Regions from separate parts of the Homo sapiens genome. Here all the other regions are linked to region 2. The links are contacts of gene promoters, found by promoter capture Hi-C in blood cells and fetal thymus (Javierre and others, 2016). All regions are on one chromosome and are shown on one strand. The core of a region is centred on a gene start or on the middle of the fragment in contact, and the rest is flanking DNA. Distances in the headings are between cores, read along the strand shown. Region 1 overlaps ZMYM1 (zinc finger MYM-type containing 1). Region 2 holds the start of TMEM35B (transmembrane protein 35B). Region 3 has its middle 3.6 kb from the start of GJB3.

Region 1 (4,046 bases), core at 141-2,640, 130 kb before region 2:
ACTGCTCAAATATATTATGGTACATTCATACAATAACATCTGCAATTATAGACCAAGAATCAAGAAACTCTTCATGTAACGACATGGGACAATCTCAAAAATATGTTACACAGAGAAGACAAGCTGAAGAACAGTATACACCGTACAATACCACTTAGGAAAAATACCTCTAGAGGGATATTTAAGGAAAAGATAACACTTTTTGGGAAGAGAAAATGAGTTCTAAAGGAGGGAAGGAGACTTCACTGTTTATCGTTCTGTGTCTTTTGAATTTTGAACAATTTTGAAATGAAAACATCCCAATGGAAATACAAGTCTTTTAGGTAAGTTCAAATGAGCATGTATTATATTTCTTTCATCTGACTGATAAACTTTTCCACAATTTCATTGAGTCTTTCAGGCTCCATTAGTTTATTTACCAACTCCTGCTCAACAGCCATTAGGGCTGGGCCAGTAAGCTTCTCTTGTCCCATGGTATTACATAAATATGTCTTAAGACGAGGCAGGGTAGAAAATGAGTTCTCAGTACTTGCTGAAGTAATTGGCCAAGACAAAGCAATATATAATAGCTTTGAGAGACAAGGAATATTACTGTGAAGACCATGCTGAATAAACAAACAGCCGAGACTGACGAAGTTTATGCAACTATCATCTATGACAAAGTTAAGCTTTGCATAATGTCGATAAAATCTAAGTTCTGGGATAATGTCCTCATCAAGTTTATAAAATTCCTGAACATGTTTTGCTGTTGTTTCATTTAATGGTTCATTCCATTTAAATAACAGTTCTGAAATTTGCTTTATTTTGCAATAATCAAACTCCGAAAAACATAACTTTAAATTTTGTAATATAGTATCTAATCCTTGGTAATAGATATTAATTTTATATTGTTCTTCTGTTGAAGTAGGAAAAAACATATTATCTGAATTGCCAAGATCTACTGATTTCTGAATTTTTCTTCTTTTCTGAAGAGAAGGTTTTTCAACTTTAAAACCTTTACAGGTTATTTTTTGACATATTTCCTCTGTTCCATCCCAGATTGTTTTAAAGTATACGTCATTTCTTTCAGATGATAAACATTCCAAAATTGCTTCTATTTTTGAAGACAAAGAAAAAATGTCTATGGTTTTATTTTGAAGCTCTTTGGAAAGAATTCCTGTAACACTCAGCACTCGATACAGGAATTTCAAACAAAAGACAAATTCAAATTTGGAAACCAATGTCAGCAAATGACTCAATTCATCGGCGAAACTTGTATTTGAAGAATGGCTTGCTATAACTTCCAATGTTTCAATAATCTCTGGAAGACTGTCAATCACAGATAGTAATGTACGATCATGGACTGTCCAACATGATTGTGATATATGTTTCTTGCATGTTTTGTTTTGACTTAGCCTATAAATGTTTCGAAAATTTGCCAACATTTCCCCAGACATACAAATAGTGTTGAACAAAGAACTGAGAGTTTTTAGAGCACTTCGGAGTTCTTTTACTTCTTTACAAAACCTAATTATTGATAAATCCAAAAAGTGTGCATAACAATGTATGTATAAAGCTCTTGGTTCTTCTTTCTTGAATTCTGCTGCTATTTTATTAAATTTTATCTTCAAATTAGTGGTGCTATCATAGGCCTGGCCATGTATTTTATCCATATCAACTCCAATTTGCTGCAGATAAGTTTTGATAGTCCTATGTAAGTGGGTCCCAGTCATCTCCTCAGTATCAACAAAACCCAAGAATCTTTCCTTAATTAAGATAGCCTTTGATGATTTTTGTGGGTATCTTACACAAATTGAAAGCTGTTCTTTCATGGCACTATTGATTGTCTCATCACATATGATTGAAAATGCTGAGGAGTCATTGATCTCATTCACAATATCCTGCAACATTTCAGTCTTTATTATTTCGATAATATCACTTTGAATTTGTGTACTGTTATAGAAGTCAACTTGTGAATTCATAAGTCGAAATGTTTCTTCTCCTTTATCTTTTGCTCTCATTTCTAACAATTCTAAAAAATTGCCTTTATTCACAGATGAAACTGACTGGTCGTTTCCTCTTAAGGGTAAACACTGCTTTCCAAGAAATAAAATATTTTCAATTATAAGCTTTAGGTACTTTTTATTTCCCTCAATCTGTTTCGAATGAATAGATAAATCGTCACTGACAGCTCCATCACAAAATTGGTATTCTCTCCAAAATTCCAATGACTTCAAATGCATTTCACTTTTTTCATGCTTTCTGAATTTTTCCAGGGTTTTTTTCCAATTAGAAGTTCCGTGGGTTGCAAATGACTCTCTTCCACAGCTAAAATATTTTTGGCAGAACAACTGGCATGAATAACAGAATGCCACATCTTTTTTACTGTTTTCCAAACACTCAAAATCTGCACAACAAGATTTTTTAATACTTCGTGATTTACCTTTAACTTTTTGTACTTTGGATGTACATTTTGGGTGACATAGTTCATCACTTATTTTCATAGATTTCATATTGTCTTTTTGTACTTCTGTACTGGAACCAATTGCATGCTGACTGAATACTGATGAAGATGGTGAAACGCTTGGCTGTTCCGTACTACTACTAGCAACAGCATTACTGGGTTCACTAGGTGAACTCTTAGAAAGCTTTGGGAGAAAATGAGAAAAGAACATTTAACAGTTTTCAAAAATTAATTAAAATATCAAATATATCTACTCTAATAACATAGTAAAATAAATGGCTGAGTTACAGTATGAGCTCCACTAGGGGGAAACGTTAACAATTACGTATAACTTATTTATTTGCAATCTAGATTCAGCATTAAATGTTTGAAGGACCTTTTGGTATGTAATTGTCATAAAAATAATTTTTATTGCTCAGATGACTCAAATTGTGTAGTATTTTTTTAAAAGAAGAACCCAGAGGAAAAAAATACTTCTGTTTAAACAATCTACAAACATACACACACACCCCATATATGAATACATAATACATAAAATATATATTAAATATATAAATATAATATATAATAAATATACATTATAATATATTTATATTATATACAATATATTATAATATATTTATATTATATATTTATATTTTTATATATTATAGTATATATTATATATATATATAAAAAATCTGGGCCAGGTGTGGTGGCTCATGCCTGTAATCCCAGCACTTTGGGAGGCCAAGGTGGGCGGATCACCTGAGGCCAGCAGTTCGAGACCAGGTTGGCCAACATGGTGAAACCCCTTCTCTACTAAAAATACAAAAATTAACTGGGCATGGTAGCAGGCGCTGGTAATCCCAGCTACTCAGGAGGCTGAGGCAGGAGAATCGCTTGAACCCAGGAGGCAAAGGTTGCAGTGAGCTGAGATCACGCCACTGCACTCCAGCTTGGGTGGCAGAGCGAGACTCTGTCTCAACAACAACAACAACAAAAATCTGCTTATTAAAAAAAGACAGTGGTAAAAAAAGTTAAAACTTACATCCACAATGACATCTGCTGTTGCTGTTACTGAAGAAACTGTATCTGTTAAAATAGAGCATAAATTCAAGATCTTATATACTATAACCTATAAAATAGCATCATAAACTATATTTGCTTATTTCATATAAGAAACAAAAAGAAAATTTAGCATATAGACAGATTTATCAAGTATGACAAAACAATATTTATGTCAAATATCTTAACATCAACTTTTACCTTGTAAGACATCAGTGTTCATGATGGGCAAGGCAACATCGGTGTCTGCCAATGACACTATATTGCTTATAACTGGAGTCGTATCTTTCTTTGGAGAAAGAAGCTCTGTTGAAGTATCATGCACCACAGAAACAACACTTACTGACAACAATAAAAAGATTTCTTATAAACAAGGCAAAATCAATCATCAGAAAGTACTGTTTAGTAATACTGTTTAAAGAAATAATGCAAGCATCTAATAGCTTAAGGAATTGGTAGGTACTGAAGTAATTTTTATTAGGGCTTAGGAATAGCCAGGTTCTTTAGTATCGTATTTATAATTACAACATTACACTGAAAATTTACACTTCTCCAA
Region 2 (4,160 bases), core at 418-2,917:
TGTTTTCAGTGATTAAATGTTTTAATAATTTTTCCCTTTTTGTTGAGGAATTTAATAATTATGATTGTTATAAATAATTATGTATAATTATAATCTAGGGTAGAAAATTTAGTTATTTCATTAAATTTGGACTAGTGACAAAGACTGCAGGTAATGAGAAGCCCAGTTTATAATGTAACAGCACAACCTGGATGTTGAAACAGCTTGGCCTTTAGAAGCAAGTGGAACATTTCAGTCTTCTAGCCAACCAGCTACTTACCCCTGCAAGGTTGTGAGTAGGTGGAAAAGATAGATCTTTTTTTTGAGATGGAGTTTTGCTCTTGTTGCCCAGGCTGGAGTGCAATGGCGTGATCTTGGCTCACTGGAACCTCTGCCTCCTAGGTTCAAACAATTCTCCTGCCTCAGCCTTCCAAGTAGCTGGGGTTACAGGCATGTGCCACCATGCCCGTCTATTGTATTTTTTTTAGTAGAGACGGGGTTTCACCATATTGGTCAGGCTGGTCTCTATCTCCTGACCTCAAGTGATCCACCTGCCTCGGCCTCCCAAAGTGCTGGGATTACAAGTGTGAGCCAACGTGCCCAGCTGGAAAAAGATAGATCTAAGCAGCTTGGGTAACTATAAATGGAAGCAGCAGGGGGATTTGAGACCCCTGCTTGGGGCCTTTCTGGCCCAATATACCAGGGCTTAGCAAACTTTTTAAATAAAGAGCCAGATAGTAAATATTTTCAGCTTTGCAGGCCATACTGTCACAACTACTCAATTCTGCAGTTGCAGTGCAAAAGCAGCCATAGACAATATGCAGATAAGTGTGGCTGTTTTTAAATAAAACTTATTCATGAACACTGAAATATGAATTTCATATAATTTTCCTATGTCACACAAGCTTCTTTAAAAAATGTTTTTATCATAAAAAATGTAAACAAACATTATTAGCTTGGGGGAAGGGGAGAAGCATGGAAAAAAATCAGACATCTGGCCAAATTTGGCCCATGGTTTGCCCATCCCAGCTTTAGACAGATTTCCAGGTAAGAGCAAATGGGCCAGGAGTGGACTGTAGGGCTTGGTTCAGTGAAAGCCTCTCTATCCATGCAAGTATCTGAATTTTCAAACACCTTTCACATTTCATTGTCAGCCGAGATAAATTAGAGGGAAAAGATATCTCAGGCAAAGAGACTTATTTAATAATTAATGGTTATTGATTTATTACAATTTTATAAATTAATTTACTAATTTACAAATAACTTTCTGAGCTCTTACATGTGCAGGCACTGTGCTAGGCCTGTTACAAACTCTGGAGAACTGAGTTATCCCCATATACAGATGCAGATACTGAGGCCCTTTGGGGTGGGTGACAGCTCAGATCCCACAGCTAGTGTGGCACAGGCAGGAACGAAGCCCGGGGTCTTTTGATGGTAGCTGAACCGCACCCAGACACCCACCCGTGTCTGCCAGCACTCCGTATTGGCTGGGAAACACTCCCTGAATCCAAAGGTGCCTGTTTAGTCAGTTACCAGCCAGTGGTCCTCAAGTGTCCCCACCTGTAAGATGGGGGCGCCCTGCCCCAGTACTGCAGCCTCGCGACCCCCTGGAGGGTGGGGGACGGTAGCTCAGGCGAGAGTCTTCCGGCTGCCCCGGGGAGGGAGGAAATGAGCCGGCGGCAGGGGCGGGTTTTCGGCGGGGCCAACCCACGGTGGGGGGAGCGCGGCCATGGCGCTCCTGCTTTCGGTGCTGCGTGTACTGCTGGGCGGCTTCTTCGCGCTCGTGGGGTTGGCCAAGCTCTCGGAGGAGATCTCGGCTCCAGTTTCGGAGCGGATGGTGAGCGGCGCGGGCGGGCGGCAGGGGATCGGGCCCGCGGCGGCGTGTGCTCCGCCCTGCCGCTCCTCGCCCCCGGCCCGGCAGGCCGCCTTCGGGCTTCCGAGGCTCAGCTGGAGCTGGGGGAAAGCGCCTGGCTTTCGACTGAGGCGCAGGTCCTGCCTGGGGAGTTCCTCGAGTTCTCTGGATCTTCCCTAGACGGAAGGGGACAGAACCTCCCCTTCCTGCAGAATATTGGTGGCCCCAGGCAAATCTAGAGCCTTAGGAGGTCCCTCCCACCCCCCCGGACCCTGGGGGAGGATGATGCGGTGGGAAAATGAGCTCACTTCCCGCTCTCTTCCCTCTTTTCGCCGTTTGCTTCAGTTTTTGGGAGGTTCGTGGGGTTGGGGTGTAGTAATCCTGGCTTTGCAGGGAAGGAAGCCCGCCCTGAAGGGCAAGTATATCTGCTAAAGATTGCACATCTAGTCAGGAAGCAGGACACAAGCTAGACACTCCTAACTCGGAACCCAGAGAGGGAAGCCTCTCTCGGAAGCCTGAGAGGGATGCCCTGAAGTCGTCTTTCAGCCTTCTGTCTAGTTCCAGACTCATGGGAAAGCTTTCATATCCTGTTCACCAATCTCCCCAGTCCCTCAAAAGAGCCAGACTTGTAGACCTCTGCTGGCATCTCTCTCCAAGGCCTGGATAAATCCCCAGAGACAGACAGCTTAGAGCTGCTTCCCAGCAGAGCTGAGGAGGGGAGGTAGAGCTGAGGAGTGGGAACAGGAAAAAGTATCCCCGAAAGTAAGGATGAAGTTGTCATTTGGCTCAGGGGAGGGCCTGCCTTGACAAGAAGAGTCACTTTGAGCCCACCTAACTCTGCCTCACCTCCAAATATTCCCTGTACAGCAGCCTTAAGAGAAACCAGGCCAGACACAAAGAAGGAAACTGTGGAATTCCCCAGGCCTTGGCACTAGGGAGCCAAGCCCAGCCCCCTCCTCCTGGGATTTGGGGCTGGGTTGTAATCTCTTGAGAGGTCTAGTGAGAAGATCAATCTCTGTACCACTTGGAGCATGGAGCCTGTTTCCTGATTCCAAAGCTCAGCGCCACAGGGCAGCCCTCTCCTCTTCAGGCTGACCTCAGCCCTGGACCTGACCTAGAGTAGTAGTTCTTTTCTCTGGGAAGTTGAGGGCACAGGCATAGATATGCCATGGAGCATCTGGGGAGCTCATCCTTGTTGAACAATGAGGCTAACAGGCATTCCTTGCCACCCCTAGAATGCCCTGTTCGTGCAGTTTGCTGAGGTGTTCCCGCTGAAGGTATTTGGCTACCAGCCAGATCCCCTGAACTACCAAATAGCTGTGGGCTTTCTGGAACTGCTGGCTGGGTTGCTGCTGGTCATGGGCCCACCGATGCTGCAAGAGATCAGTAACTTGTTCTTGATTCTGCTCATGATGGGTAAGGGGGCCAACTGGCCTGAGAAAATGGGGTCTTCTGGGGGAGGATTATGGAAAGACCTGGCTGTTCCCCCTTACTGTTGCCACCCTTCTTTTTTCTCTGGGATCAAGAGCACTTTCTGCTCTACCACAGTTTCCATGGTCTTCAAACTAGCACAGGTATTTTTTTTTTTTTTTTTTTTTTTTTTTGAGATGGAGTCTCGCTCTTTCGCCCAGGCTGGACTGCAGTGGCACTATCTCTGCTCACTGCAACCTCCGCCTCCTGGGTTCACACCATTCTCCTGCCTCAGCCTCCCGAGTAGCTGGGACTACAGGCGCCTGCCACAGCGCCCGACTGATTTTTTTGTATTTTTAGTAGAGACAGGGTTTCACCATGTTAGCCAGGATGGTCTCGATCTCCTGAACTCGTGATCTGCCCGCCTTGGCCTCCCAAAGTGCTAGGATTACAGGCTTGAGCCACTATGCCCGGCCTAGCACAGGTACTTTTTAAACTTAATGTGCTAGAACATTATCACATGTTAAGTGTACCTTCTACCTCCTCAATTCTAATGGCTGCATAGTATTGCCTTGTGAAGATATATTGCAAGCTCAGCGCCTCTGCTCCTTCCTCCACACATCCACTCCTAGGATGAGGGGATGGAGGAGCAGCTGCCATTTGATGCATGTGTCTGGCAGATTGGTGTAGAGAGCAGGGAAGCTGGAGAACCTTGAACAGGAAGGCAGAGAATTTCCCTAGGGAGTCCCCCTCAAGTAGCTCTGCCCACAGGAACTGCTGATGTACAAAGACAGCTGTTGCTTCAAAGGCCAGATATCTTCAGGCTCTTCTATATGCCCTGGCATCTGTTACCATTGCTGCCACTGCTACCAGGCTTGCTTCCATCTCTGGAGCTTCTCCCATTTTCAGATCTTTCCCA
Region 3 (4,380 bases), core at 1,141-3,640, 210 kb after region 2:
GCCTCACATCCTGGCCTCTAAGGTGGGCATGTCCCAGGGCCCAGTCTCTTCCTTCCCAGGTGAGCTCACCCAGTCCTGGGGCTCTAGATACCATCCACTCACTGATGATTCACACATTTCCAACACCGGACGTGACTTCTCCCTGAACACCAGACTGTAACCGGAGCTGCCTACCTGAACACCAGGGTCCCTAGTTTCTTGTTCTTACTCCCAAATCACCTGTTCATATTCAACTATATATTCTTTTTACATTTAACCTATGGAAGTGTGCTATGCTATCTGCACTCTTTTGCACTTTGCTTTCTTCATTTAACAAAATATGAGACATTCCCCCCATCAGTGGATATGGAGCTGCCTTGCTCTCTCATTTTAAAAACAGCTGAATAGTATATGTACTCTATTTAATCAGTCCTATTCTGATGAAAAGGCTGTTTCCACTTTTTTATTTCATTCTATTACAAATACCATTGCGTGACTATCCTTGGATAATCATTATTGAACACATTTGAAAATTGTGTCTACAGGACATATTCCTACATGTGAAATGTTTGCTTTAAAGTTGTATGTGTATTTAAAATTTTGATACATATTGCCCAATCGTCTTCACAGATGTTTCAGTTTGCACTCCAAGGGACAAGGGAGTGCCTGTATCCCCATATACGTACCAATAGAGAGCGTTATCAAGCTTTATGATCTTTGTCAATGATATCTCATCATACTTTATTTTGCATTTCTCTTGGTATGAGTGAGATTGAGCATCTTTTCACATATTTAAGGGCCGCTTTTGTTTGTTATCCTGTGAACAGTTCTTTGCCTTTGCCATTTTTCTATTGGATGGTTGACTTTTATTATTTATTTCTCAGGAGCTCTTTACATACTAAAGAAATAAGCCCTCCTCTGTCTGTGATACAAATAGAAAGGATTCCCTCTGCCTCTGCTGCTTCTTGACACCTGTGATTTGACTTTATAGACGGGGGTTTTGCCATACAGAATTAAACATGTTTTATGTAGTCCAGTGTATTAATATTATCTTTTATGGCCCTTGGGTTTTGTTGTCATTAGAAATGCCTTCACCACTCTGAGGACTGCAATAACATTTTTTCCCGTGGTTGCTTCTAGCTGAAGTAGTGTTTTAACGATCTATTAGACTGGTGCAAAAGTAATTGTGGTTTTTGCCATTGAAAGTAATGGTAAAAACCGCAGTTACTTTTGCACCAACCTAATAGATCATGCCACTTCCCTCTTAAAACCTTACAGTGACTTATCATTAACTTTAGACTGGCATCCACTCTCTTGACGTTGAGCCCCAAGGCACCAGGCGACCTAGTCCTGCCTCTCCCCCATCTCTCATCCCCTTGGGCGCTGTAGTGGCCTTCTTTCTGGTTCTTGAACAAGCCACATTCAGGTCAGCCTTCTGGTTTTTGCCTTTGCTGTTCTCTCTGCCTGGACTGCCTTCTCCTGACTCTTTACTTGGAAGCTTCCTCCTCCTTATTCAGGTCTCACCTTCTTACAGAGGTGTTCCCTGGTTCCCCCACCCCCACCCCAAATGTTCCTTGCTCCACTTCCTCAGCAGACACTCTTCACAGCCGTCTCTGAAATTATCTCCAGGAGAGCAGGGAGCTCCCTGGTCACGTTCCTGCCACATTACCAGGGCCTGGAATGTACAGACTCTCAGTCACTATTTGTAAACACTGGGTGCACATAAGGTTATGTGCGAGAACTGTTTCTGTGTGTGTAAGCCTGGAGAGCTGTGTGTTAAGGGTGGTATGTGGGCCACGTGTGTGTAGGCTTTGATGTGCGTTGTTGTGAGTGTGTGTGATGGTGGAGATGGCTGGGGTGGTGTGGGAGGCTGTGTGCATGTGTGGTTGTGAACGTGTGTGATGGCAGAGATGGCTGGGGTGGTGTGGGAGGCTGTGTGCATGTGTGGTTGTGAACGTGTGTGATGGCGGAGGTGGCTGGGGTGGTGTGGGAGGCTGTGTGCATGTGTGGTTGTGAACGTGTGTGATGGCGGAGATGGCTGGGGTGGTGTGGGAGGCTGTGTGCATGTGTGGTTGTGAATGTGTGTGATGGTGGAGGTGGCTGGGGTGGTGTGGGAGGCTGTGTGCATGTGTGGTTGTGAATGTGTGTGATGATGGAGATGGCTGGGGTGGTGTGGGAGGCTGTGTGCATATGTGGTTGTGGTGGTGTGTAGTGGTGTCTATGTGTGTGGTTGGGTTATTCTGCTCTGGTAACCAGGTGATTTTATCACCTAGGTCCTGTCATTCTGACTCTGCCAGATGCTGGCTTTTCACTCTTGATATGAGATAGTGCCCCCAACAACTGGCCTTTGCTTTTTCTGGAGTGAGCTGGAAGAGTTCCCCATTCCAGAGAGAATGGCTCTGAGAACCTTAATGCCTTGTGGTCCTGCCCTAAATTTCTGCTCCCTGAGTAGGGGAATGTGTAGGAGGCCATCTAGGCCATCCCCCTGCCTCAGGACAAAGCTGTGTTGCACCAGGGATTGGCAGCTGCCCTCAGGGCTTACACCTGCTCTCTAGGGGTGGCAGGGCCAGAGCCTGTACCTCTTCTGGCCCTGGCCCTGGCCCAGGCGGTGCTGCTCCCAGGCTGTCCTCTCCACCTAGAGCTCTGCCCAGGCCTCAGGCAGGTGCTTCCTGAGATGGGAAGACCACCCCGCCCCCCACCCCTGCCACCTCTCAGACTGGAGTTTTCCTTATCTTTGTGTGTCTGCAGCAGAGGCATGAGGCCCTTTCCTTCCTTGAGTGGAGAGGTGGGGCAGGCAGAAGCCATGGGAAACAGATCAGGCAGAGGGATGGGGGCTTTTGAGCCCTGCTCAGGCATGTCTGGGGCTGCAGGCAGGGAGGAGGCGATCTTCCAGGGAGGCCCTGGGCTGGAGTGTTGCTTATTTTCCAAGACACCTAGAGTTGCTCGAAACTTCTGCCCACACACCTTGCTCCTCGAATGGAGGTAATACGTGACTTTGCTGAGCTGCTGTCAGGAGCCAACCATACCATTCTAATATGCACGCACCCCTTCTTACCCACCAGGCACCTCCCTCCACCTCCTCTCTTCCTCCTCCATCATTGACCTTTTGCTCTTTACTGGATCTTTCCTGTTACCATGTGGGTATTTCTCCATCTTAACAACAAAACAACAAGACACCTTAACCTGAACCCCACTTCTCCTTCCAGCATCTGCCTCATTTCTTTCCACTCCTTTACAGCAAAATCTATCCAAAGACTTGTCCTGATTCATTATCTCCATTTTTTCTCTTTCATCTTCTCTTGAACTTACTCTAATCAAGCTTTAGCTTCCTATATGACACCAAAACTGCTCTTGTCAAAGTCCCTATAGCTAAACCCCATGGCCAAGTTTCAACCCTCATCTTTCCCTGAACCCTCAGCAGCGTTGAATGAAGTTGATTCCTCTCGCCTTGACACTATTCCTTTGGCTTCAGAGGCATCACACTCTCCTGACTTTTCTACTTCCTTTCTGCACTTTCTTTCTCAGTCTCCTTTGCTGGTTACTCCAGATCTTCCTGACTTTTAAGAACTGGGATGCCTTGAGGCTCAGTCCTTGCATTCTTTCTCTTCTCTGTCCTCCCTTGCTCACTTGGTAACATCATCCAGTCTCAGGGTTTAAAATACGAAAATTTAGCTGACAACCGCTAAATACGTATCCCCAGCCCAGACCATTCCTCTAAACTCTGTACTCATGTGTCCAGCTGTTAGTAAACTTTCTCCTAGGATGTTTAACATAGGTATCACAAACCTATGTTAAGCTCCTTACTTACTAGGGTTGCCAGATTTAGGAACAAAGCAAAAGCACAACCAGGACACCCAGTTAATTCTGAATTTCAGCTAGTACATGGGACACACATTAAAAAATTGTTGGCTGGGTGCGGTGGCTCACGCCTGTAATCCCAGCACTTTGGGAGGCCGAGGAGGGCAGATCACGAGGTCAAGAGATCCAGACCATCCTGGCCAACATGGTGAAATCCCATCTCTACTAAAAATACAAAAATTAGCTGGGCGTGGTGGCGCGTGCCTGTAGTCCCAGCTACTCAGGAAGCTGAGGCAGGAGAATCGCTTGAACCCAGGGAGGTGGAGGTTGCAGTGAGCCGAGATCGTGCCACTGCACTCCAGCCTGGTGACAGAGTGAGACTCTATCTCCAAAAAAAAAAAAAAAAAAAAAAAAAAAAAAAAGTTTGTCTGAAATTTGCTCATCTGGCAACCTATTCCTTTTCTTCCTCTCTGACCTTTTCTCTCACTTGTTCTAGTAAATGGCAGTTTTACTCATCGACTTGCTCAGGCCCCAAACCTTTGAGTCTTCATTGATCCTCTTTTCCCATATCCCACATTCAATGTCTGTGAATCATTTTGGTGC

The links. The method cuts DNA at HindIII sites, captures the fragments that hold promoters and counts their contacts. A CHiCAGO score of 5 or more calls a contact.
Region 1: a fragment that was not itself captured here is called in contact with the fragment with the promoter of TMEM35B in region 2 in 2 of 17 cell types (endothelial precursors and megakaryocytes); the score reaches 6.6 in endothelial precursors.
Region 3: a contact is called between a fragment that was not itself captured here and the fragment with the promoter of TMEM35B in region 2, in 1 of 17 cell types (megakaryocytes). The highest score is 5.6, in megakaryocytes.

The regions. Positions count from the first base shown.
Region 1 is chr1:35,111,558-35,115,603 of GRCh38, reverse strand. It overlaps ZMYM1 (zinc finger MYM-type containing 1), which reads right to left. Exons shown (of 10, transcript NM_024772.5): 8 at 3,692-3,832; 9 at 3,474-3,517; 10 at 1-2,627. The coding sequence ends at 345. Among named protein-coding and RNA genes, the nearest start is that of ZMYM1, 34 kb to the right of the region's middle. The HindIII fragment of the contact is 1,440 bases long and covers 671-2,110 here.
Region 2 is chr1:34,982,854-34,987,013 of GRCh38, reverse strand. It overlaps TMEM35B (transmembrane protein 35B), which reads left to right and starts at 1,667. Exons shown (of 3, transcript NM_001195156.2): 1 at 1,667-1,816; 2 at 3,067-3,247. The coding sequence starts at 1,709. It overlaps ZMYM6 (zinc finger MYM-type containing 6), which reads left to right. Exons shown (of 16, transcript NM_007167.4): 16 at 1-849. RefSeq lists silencers at 1,689-1,978, 2,039-2,108. The HindIII fragment of the contact is 1,524 bases long and covers 887-2,410 here.
Region 3 is chr1:34,775,408-34,779,787 of GRCh38, reverse strand. No RefSeq gene overlaps it. Among named protein-coding and RNA genes, the nearest start is that of GJB3, 3.6 kb to the left of the region's middle. The HindIII fragment of the contact is 1,821 bases long and covers 1,480-3,300 here.